Linked DNA regions of Homo sapiens: region 1 is linked to region 2. Evidence: promoter capture Hi-C in 16 types of primary human blood cells and fetal thymus (Javierre and others, 2016). All regions are on one chromosome and are shown on one strand. The core of a region is centred on a gene start or on the middle of the fragment in contact, and the rest is flanking DNA. Distances in the headings are between cores, read along the strand shown. Region 1 has its middle 2.3 kb from the start of RIPK1. Region 2 holds the start of WRNIP1 (WRN helicase interacting protein 1).

Region 1 (4,198 bases), core at 1,492-3,991, 300 kb after region 2:
GCTGCCACCGAAAGATGGGACCTGAAGACAGGAGAGGTCGCTCAGCCAAGAGCCCCGGGGAGGCGGTGGTGTCTCGGCGGGGTCAGCAACGGTCTGTGGGGGGTCCCCTGCAGCGCGCAGCCGGTTTCCGCCTCCGCAGCTCCCAGCCAGCGCGGACGCCGCCCTCCCCGGCGCCTCCTCGCTGCCCTTCCCTGGCCGAAGCCCTCCCCTGCAGCCTCCTCCCCACCTGCCGGCCCTGTGTTCTCACTGCTCCTCTCTGCTCTGGGATCCGCAGGATGACGTCTGTCCTGGTTCTTCTTCTGTCTTTCAAAGTCACTAGTCTCCAGTTCTAAATCCGAGCACTCTTACCCATTCTAATTCTTTCAGTAACTCAGCGAAACGGATGGGGCCCTTCCTTCCCCGGAGCACTCCTCCAGGGACTGAGAATCTGCAGAGCCAGGCTCAGCGCTCGCCTGCAGAGCCTGCGGTCTGTGGGACCCGCCAGCAAGATGAGGAATCACTTTCGGGAGGAAGGGTCGTGCTGGGGAGGGTCGCGCCGGCGGGGTCAAGAGAACCTCCTCTAGGGTGGGAATCAGAGCCTCCGGGCCGCGGTGTTTGAGGGTGAGTGGAATTAATCCCGTGATGGACGTGGGGCCTTCTAAGGGGGACCAGGAGTTTGCGAAGAGGTGACTTTGGGAGGGGTTCAGGATGGCCAGAGGTGGAGGCTGTGACCTCAGTGAGGCTGGATCAAGGGAGGGGCAGGTGGAGAAGAAACCGTTTTAACGAGGTGGCTTTAAGCGGATCCTAAGGGCCCCAGGAGATTTAGGAGGAAGGACAAGAGGATTAAGACACCGCTTTCTGGTCGGGTGCGGTGGCTCACGCCTGTAATCCCAGCACTCTGGGAGGCCGAGGCGGGCGGATCACGAGGTCAGGAGATGGAGACCATCCTGGCTAACACTGTGAAACCCCGTCTCTACTAAAAAAAAGAAAAAAAAGAATACAAAAAAATAGCCGGGCGTGGTGGCGGGCGCCTGTAGTCCCAGCTACTCGGGAGGCTGAGGCAGGAGAATGGCGTGAACCCGGGAGGCGGAGCTTGCAGTGAGCTGAGATCGCGCCACTGCACTCCAGCACTCCAGCCTGGGCGACAGAGCCAGACTCCGTCTCAAAAAAAAAAAAAAAAAAAAAAAAAAAGACACGGCTTTCTGAGGTGCCGTGCGGCTGTGGCGGGGGTGGCTGGGGGTGCGGGTTGTGTTCATTGTCCAAGGCTCTCCAGTGCTTTGCGTGGCGTTTTGGGGAGCACAGATGAGGTGTCCCGACAGTGGGGAGTGGCTCTAGGGAGACCAGAGGCTCGGGAGGGGGCCTGGGCATTAGACCAGGCACAGGATCCAAAGTGGGAAGAAATGTGGGCGTAGAGGGCAGGCCTTGGAGATGGGTGTGGGGGAGGAGGGGGAGATGGAAAGGAGTCAGGGAGGTCTCCCAGGCTCACCTGGAGGAGTCAGGGTCTCATTTCCAAGTGCACTGGGAACTGCAGCCTGGGGGTGGGGGTTCATTTGGTTTCAGGCCTGTGGCCAAGAGACCTACCCCCTCATATTCACACTTTGGCCTCCACGGGCTTCAGAGATAGTACCAGCTCTTTGTTCTCGCTGGTTTTCTTTCCTCACCTTGGGCTGTTTCTTGCCTTTTCCATTCTGGTGTTCTGCAAGGACCAGTTCCTTCATCTCATGCACAGTCTACACTCATGGCTTTTGCTGGGAGTAATGAGTAAAGCTCCCAAATAGATGTTTCTGAGTTAAAACACTGAACACAAAATGAAGCAAAAACAACGCATTTCCAACCTCCCAAGGTCACATGATGTCTAGAGGACAGTGATGGGCAATAACTTTTTGTCTTCCCCATTAGAATGCAAGCTCCACGAATGGAACGTGGAGTTTTTTATTTTTTATTGTTTTTTGAGACGGAGTCTGGCTCTGTCACCCAGGCTGGAGCAATCTTGGCTCACTGCAACCTCCGCCTTCTGGGTTCAAGCAATTCTCCCGCCTCAGCCTCCTGAGTAGCTGGGTCTACAGGCATGCACCACCACGCCCAGCTAATTTTTGTATTTTTAGTAGAGACGAGGTTTCATCATGTTTGCCAGGCTGGTCCGGAACCCCTGAGCTCAGGCAATCCGCCCGACTTGGCCTCCCAAAGTGCTAGGATTACAGGTGTGAGCCACTACACACGGCCAGAACATAGAGATTTTTTGTGTTTAATTCACAACCGAGTCTTCAGTGCCTAGAACAGGTGCTCAGTAAATATTTACTGAAGGAATGAATTCCTTTTTGTATTTCTTGTATCTATCACCAGATGCTCTTGTATCTAGTACCTGCTTGGCATACAGTAGATAGAAAGCTTTGCTGAGTGAATAGCTCTGCCTTTCGTCTTTTTTGATATGTGTACATCTTTTAAAAAATAATGAATAGACTTTGTTTTAGAGCTGTTTTGGTTTACAGCAAAACTAAGCAGAAAGAAAATATCCCCTTCCACAAACATCCTGGACTGTACAGCCTCCCCTACCATCAACATCCTGCATTACTGTGGAATATTTGTCACACCTGATAAACCAACATAGATTCATGGTTACAAAAATGAACCAATATGGATAAAACATATACATTATCAGCCAAAGTCCGGAGTTTGTTAGGTTTTGCTCTTTGTGTATATTCAAGATACATTTGACAAATGTATAGAGATGTACCCAACCCTGTAACGTCAGACTCCACTGCCCTAAAAATCCCTTGTGCCTCACCTATCCATCCCTCCTTCCCTGCAAATCCCTGGCAGCCGCTGATCTTTTTTACTATCTCCGTAGTTTTTCCTTTTCCAGAATGTCACATAGTTGGAATCATGCATTATGTAGTCTTCTCAGATTGGCTTCTTTCACTTAGATTTATACATTTAGGATTGCTCCAGGATTTTTTTTTTTTTTTTTTTTTTTGTGGCTTCAGAGCTCATTTCTTTTTAGCACTTAATATTCCATTGTATAGATGTACCACAGCTTATCTGTCCACCCATTAAGTGATATCTTGGATGCCCTCAAGTTTTGGCAATTATGAATAAAGCTGCTATAGACATTCTTGTACAGGTGTTTGTATGGGCATAAGCTTTCAACTCGTTTGGGTAAATACCAAGGTGTGGAGTTGCTTCATCTTATGGTAAGAAGAGCTTGGTTAAGAAATTGCCAAAATGTCTTCCAGACTCTAACATTAGGCATTCCCACTAGGAATGTATGGGAGTTCCTTGTGCTCCAGATCCTCATCAACATTTGTTGTTGTCAGTGTTCTGAATTTTAGCCATTCTAATAAATGTGTAATAGTATTTGTTTTTTTAAATTGCAATTCTTTAATGACATGATGTTGAGCATCTTTTCATATGCATATACATATGGTGAGGTGTATGTTCAGAGCTTTTGCCCGCCTTTAATCAAGTTGTACATTTTCATATTGTTGCATTTTAAGAGGGTTTTTTTTGGTATATTTTGGGTCACAGTGCTTTATCAGATATGTCTTTTGCAAATATTTTCTCCCAGTCTGTGGCTCGTGTTGTGAACGTGGCTAGTTCTCTTGACATACATATCTTTTCACAGTATGTAATCCTGTTGTGCTTTTTTTTTTTTTCCTTTTGAGACGGAATCTTGCTCTTGTCACCCAGGCTGGAGTGCAGTGGCGCGATCTCGGCTCACTACAATCTCCACCTCCCAGGTTCAAGGGATTCTCCTGCCTCAGCCTCCCGAGTAGCTGGGATTGCTGGTGCCCGCCACCACGCCCAGTTGATTTTTGTATTTTTTAGTAGAGATGGGGTTTCACCATGTTGGCCAGGCTGGTCTCGAACTGCTGACCTCAAGTGATCCGCCCGCCTTGGCTTCCCAAAGTGCTGGGATTACAGGCGTGAACAACCGCGCCCGGCCTGATGTGCATATAATTTTATTATTTGATTTTTAATATACATGAATAGCATGCAGTTCCAACTTTGCTCGAGACTTCACAATTACCATTTTAAAGGGCTGCAAAATAATCACATTTCCTCCTCAACAGCCCCACTTTACAGATGAAGGTAGAGGAATGCTAACTTGCCTATGCTAACCCGCAGAGCTCTGAATCCTCCGGATAGCGCCCCCGCTGTAATCCACCCAGTGCTTCCCTCCAGACCCTTCTCCCTCTCGTGCGCGCGGAGGTTTCGGTTT
Region 2 (3,681 bases), core at 1,176-3,675:
AAAATAAAAGAACAAAACACCCACACAAGCAAAAGAAAGCCAAGCGGGTCTCCATCGCCAGCTCTAGCAGCCTGCTTTTATTCTCTCATCTGGCCCCACCCACAACCTGCTGATTGGTCCATTTTACAGAGAGCCCATTGGTCTGTTTTACGGAGAGCTGATTGGTCTGATTTGACAGGGTGCTGATTGGTGTGTTTACAAACCTTGAGCTAGATACAGAGTGCCGATTGGTGTATTTACAATCCCTTAGCTAGACATAAAGGTTCTCCAAGTCCCCACCAGACTCAGAAACCCAGTTGGCTTCTCCCATTAATTTCTGAACTGGGGCTGCAGTATAGAGTTGCTTGCTAGTCCCACGTAATGAGCCTGCATTGCTCAGCTCTGGGGTGGTGAACGGCCCTGGGTGCCGTGAGGCAGTAAGCAGCGCTTCTCAGGGAGGCTTGGGCCGCGCAGGAGTCCCCAGTTGGGGGGAGGCTCAGGCATGGCAGGCCTGAGCCTTGCGCTGCGTGGAGGCAACTACGGCCTGGCGAGAAGTGCTGTCCCAAGTGCTAAGCTCCTCACCGTCCTGGGCCGGTGGTGCAGGCCGCTCCGAGCGCGAGGCTTATCTGAGCCTACTCCCACCCGGAACTCGCGCTGGCCCGCAAGCACCGCGCGCAGCCCCGGTTCCCGCCCGCGCCTCTCCCACCATACTTCCCCACAAGCTGAGGGAGCCAGCTCCGGCCTTGGCCCGCCCAGGAAAGAGCTCCCATAGTACAGCGGCAGGCTGAAGGGTTTCGCAACCACGGCCGGAGTGGACGCCAAGGCAGAGGAGGCGCTGAGAGCGAGCGAGGACTGAGAGGGCTGCCAGAATGCTGTCACCTCTCACTGCTGAGGGACAAATGAAAAAAAAAAGCTCACGGTCGGGCGCAGTGGCTCATGCCTGTAATCCCAGCACTTTGGGAGACCGAGGTGGGCGGATCACCTGAGGTCGGGAGTTCGAGGAAGAAACCCCGTCTGTACTAAAAATCCAAAAAAATTACCTGGGTGTGGTGGCGGACGCCCGTAATTCCAGCTACTCGAGAGGCTGAGACAGCAGAATCACTGGAACCCGGGAGGCGGAGGTTGCCGTGAGCTGAGATTGCGCCATTGCACTCCAGCCTGGACAAGAGTGAAACTGCGTCTCAAAAAAATAATGAAAGCTCACGATCCTCTTTTGGTAGTTTCACGTTACATGATGATTAAAGTTTAACTTGTTTCTCTAGCGTTTCTATTAATCTTATTTTTGAGCCTAACTTTTTTAGTTAGAAACAACTCTTAACCAGCCAGCCAGGCGTGGTGGCTCAGCCTGTAACCCCAGGACGACTCCAAAGGCTAAGGCGGAAGGGTCCCGGGCGCCCAGGAGTTCAAGGCTGTGAGCTCTGGTCGCGGCCCTGCACTCCAGCCTGGGCGACAGAACGAGTGAGACCCTCAATGTGCTCTTGCCCAGATGAAATAAAAATTCAAGTTTTGGCCAAATTTCGGAAAAGTCTTCATTCTCCCTCAATTCATTTACCTCTTCTAGTTACCAAAAATGCCTGTTTTGAGATACATGTTTTAAAACGGGAGACTTAGACAAAAGCAAAAAATAACATGGTAATTCATTCAAAGATGCAGACTACCACACTTGTTTTAATCTGATATTCTTTCCATTTCTATCCGTCTAGGACGTAATTGCACACGGGCGCCTCCCATCATTTGGTTGCTAAGGAGACAGAAGGCTGGTGTTTCCGATTTGCCACTATTACACAGCGGCCCGCGAGAAGCATCTCTTGGCTCGAAGCGCGCTGTAGGTGAACCGCCCTTGACTTAAACGCCAACACATCTAAAAGGGGGCGAGGGACGCTTTATTTTCATTTCCCTGACCACTACTGAGGTGAGCATTTCTTTCACTCGCGTACTTGTTTGTATTTTTTCTGCTGTTCACGTCCAATAGAACACTGGTTTTCTATTGGAGGCTTTTGGGTTTTTTCCCCCATTTCCCTTTCGTTACAAACGACCCGCTGCGGCCGCCTCCTGCTTGTCCCCACAGGCCCATTCAACAGCCCAGCACGGAAGGCCGGGAAAGCGGCGCTCGCCGCTCCAACAACCTCGCGCAGTCCGTGGCTCCTCCCTGCCCTCGCGCGACTCGCAGGCCTGGGCGGAGGGCTGCGTCCGCCACCGCGCAACCTCGCGCACGCGCACCACGCTCGCCTCGCAACCCCCCCCCCCGCCCCTCCCCCGCCCCCGCAAAGGCTGTTCTCAGAGTCGGAAATGGACGCACGGCAGCTGGGGCGAATGGCCGCGGACTACACTTCCCGAAGTGCCGCGCGAGGTATTCTCGGCGGTGATTGGGGCAAACGGCCACGGACTACACTTACTTACATGCCGCGCGAGGCGCCTCCGCCGCCGGGGCAAACGGCCACGAACTACACTTCCCGACACGCCGCGTGAGGCGCTGCCAGCGGCCGGCCGAGGGCGGGCGGACGCGGGAGCTGCGGACGTGAGGCATGAGCGGCGCCCTCCTCCGGCCCGCGAGCGTCCTGCTGGTTCCCCGAGCGAGGGTCTCGCGGCGCGGGGCCTAGCGGAGGGCATCGAAGGCCTCCGCGTGCGCACGGGTTGCTGCGGCCGCGCCGGGCGCCGGGGAGGGCGGCGGCCGCCATGGAGGTGAGCGGGCCGGAAGACGACCCCTTCCTTTCGCAGCTGCACCAGGTGCAGTGCCCCGTGTGCCAGCAGATGATGCCCGCCGCGCACATCAACTCGCACCTGGACCGCTGTCTGCTGCTCCACCCGGCGGGGCACGCGGAGCCCGCGGCCGGGTCGCACCGCGCCGGGGAGCGGGCCAAGGGGCCCTCGCCGCCCGGCGCCAAGAGGCGGCGGCTGTCGGAGAGCTCGGCGCTGAAGCAGCCAGCCACCCCGACGGCAGCCGAGAGCAGCGAGGGCGAGGGTGAGGAGGGCGACGACGGCGGCGAGACCGAGAGCCGCGAGAGCTACGACGCGCCGCCCACACCCAGCGGCGCCCGCCTTATCCCCGACTTCCCGGTGGCCCGCTCCAGCAGCCCCGGGAGGAAGGGGTCGGGGAAGAGGCCGGCGGCCGCCGCCGCGGCGGGGAGCGCGTCTCCGCGCAGCTGGGACGAGGCGGAGGCGCAGGAGGAGGAGGAGGCCGTGGGCGACGGCGATGGCGACGGGGACGCGGACGCGGACGGCGAGGACGACCCGGGGCACTGGGACGCGGACGCTGCCGAAGCCGCCACCGCCTTCGGGGCCAGTGGCGGGGGCCGCCCGCACCCCCGGGCGCTGGCTGCCGAGGAGATCCGACAGATGCTACAGGGCAAGCCGCTGGCCGACACGATGCGTCCTGACACGCTGCAGGATTACTTCGGGCAGAGCAAGGCCGTGGGCCAGGATACCCTGCTGCGCTCGCTCCTGGAGACCAACGAAATCCCCTCGCTTATCCTGTGGGGGCCGCCGGGCTGCGGCAAGGTGAGTGCGGCCTTGGCCGTTGGGCTTCCGTAGTTATCTCGGCGGTGGATGCAGCTGATGGTCGGAGAGCCGGGTGTGCTGCCCTCGAAAGAAGCCGCCTGCCTCTCCTGGATAAGGGGGTGCAGACTTGGGCTGGGCTGGGGCAGTGCCTGGTCCACAGGTGGAGTCTGTGATGGGTGTGAAAAGGGCACACACCCCCAGATT

The links. The method cuts DNA at HindIII sites, captures the fragments that hold promoters and counts their contacts. A CHiCAGO score of 5 or more calls a contact.
Region 1: a fragment that was not itself captured here is called in contact with the fragment with the promoter of WRNIP1 in region 2 in 2 of 17 cell types (megakaryocytes and naive CD4 T cells); the score reaches 7.4 in megakaryocytes.

Annotation. Positions count from the first base shown.
Region 1 is chr6:3,064,122-3,068,319 of GRCh38, forward strand. It overlaps a transcript of RIPK1 not described here. Among named protein-coding and RNA genes, the nearest start is that of RIPK1, 2.3 kb to the right of the region's middle. RefSeq lists a silencer at 79-188. The HindIII fragment of the contact is 752 bases long and covers 2,366-3,117 here.
Region 2 is chr6:2,762,968-2,766,648 of GRCh38, forward strand. It overlaps WRNIP1 (WRN helicase interacting protein 1), which reads left to right and starts at 2,426. Exons shown (of 7, transcript NM_020135.3): 1 at 2,426-3,477. The coding sequence starts at 2,656. It also overlaps a transcript of MYLK4 not described here. RefSeq lists enhancers at 991-1,870, 1,968-2,262 and silencers at 1,717-1,806, 2,187-2,236, 2,397-2,856, 3,027-3,346. The HindIII fragment of the contact is 13,290 bases long and covers 1-3,681 here.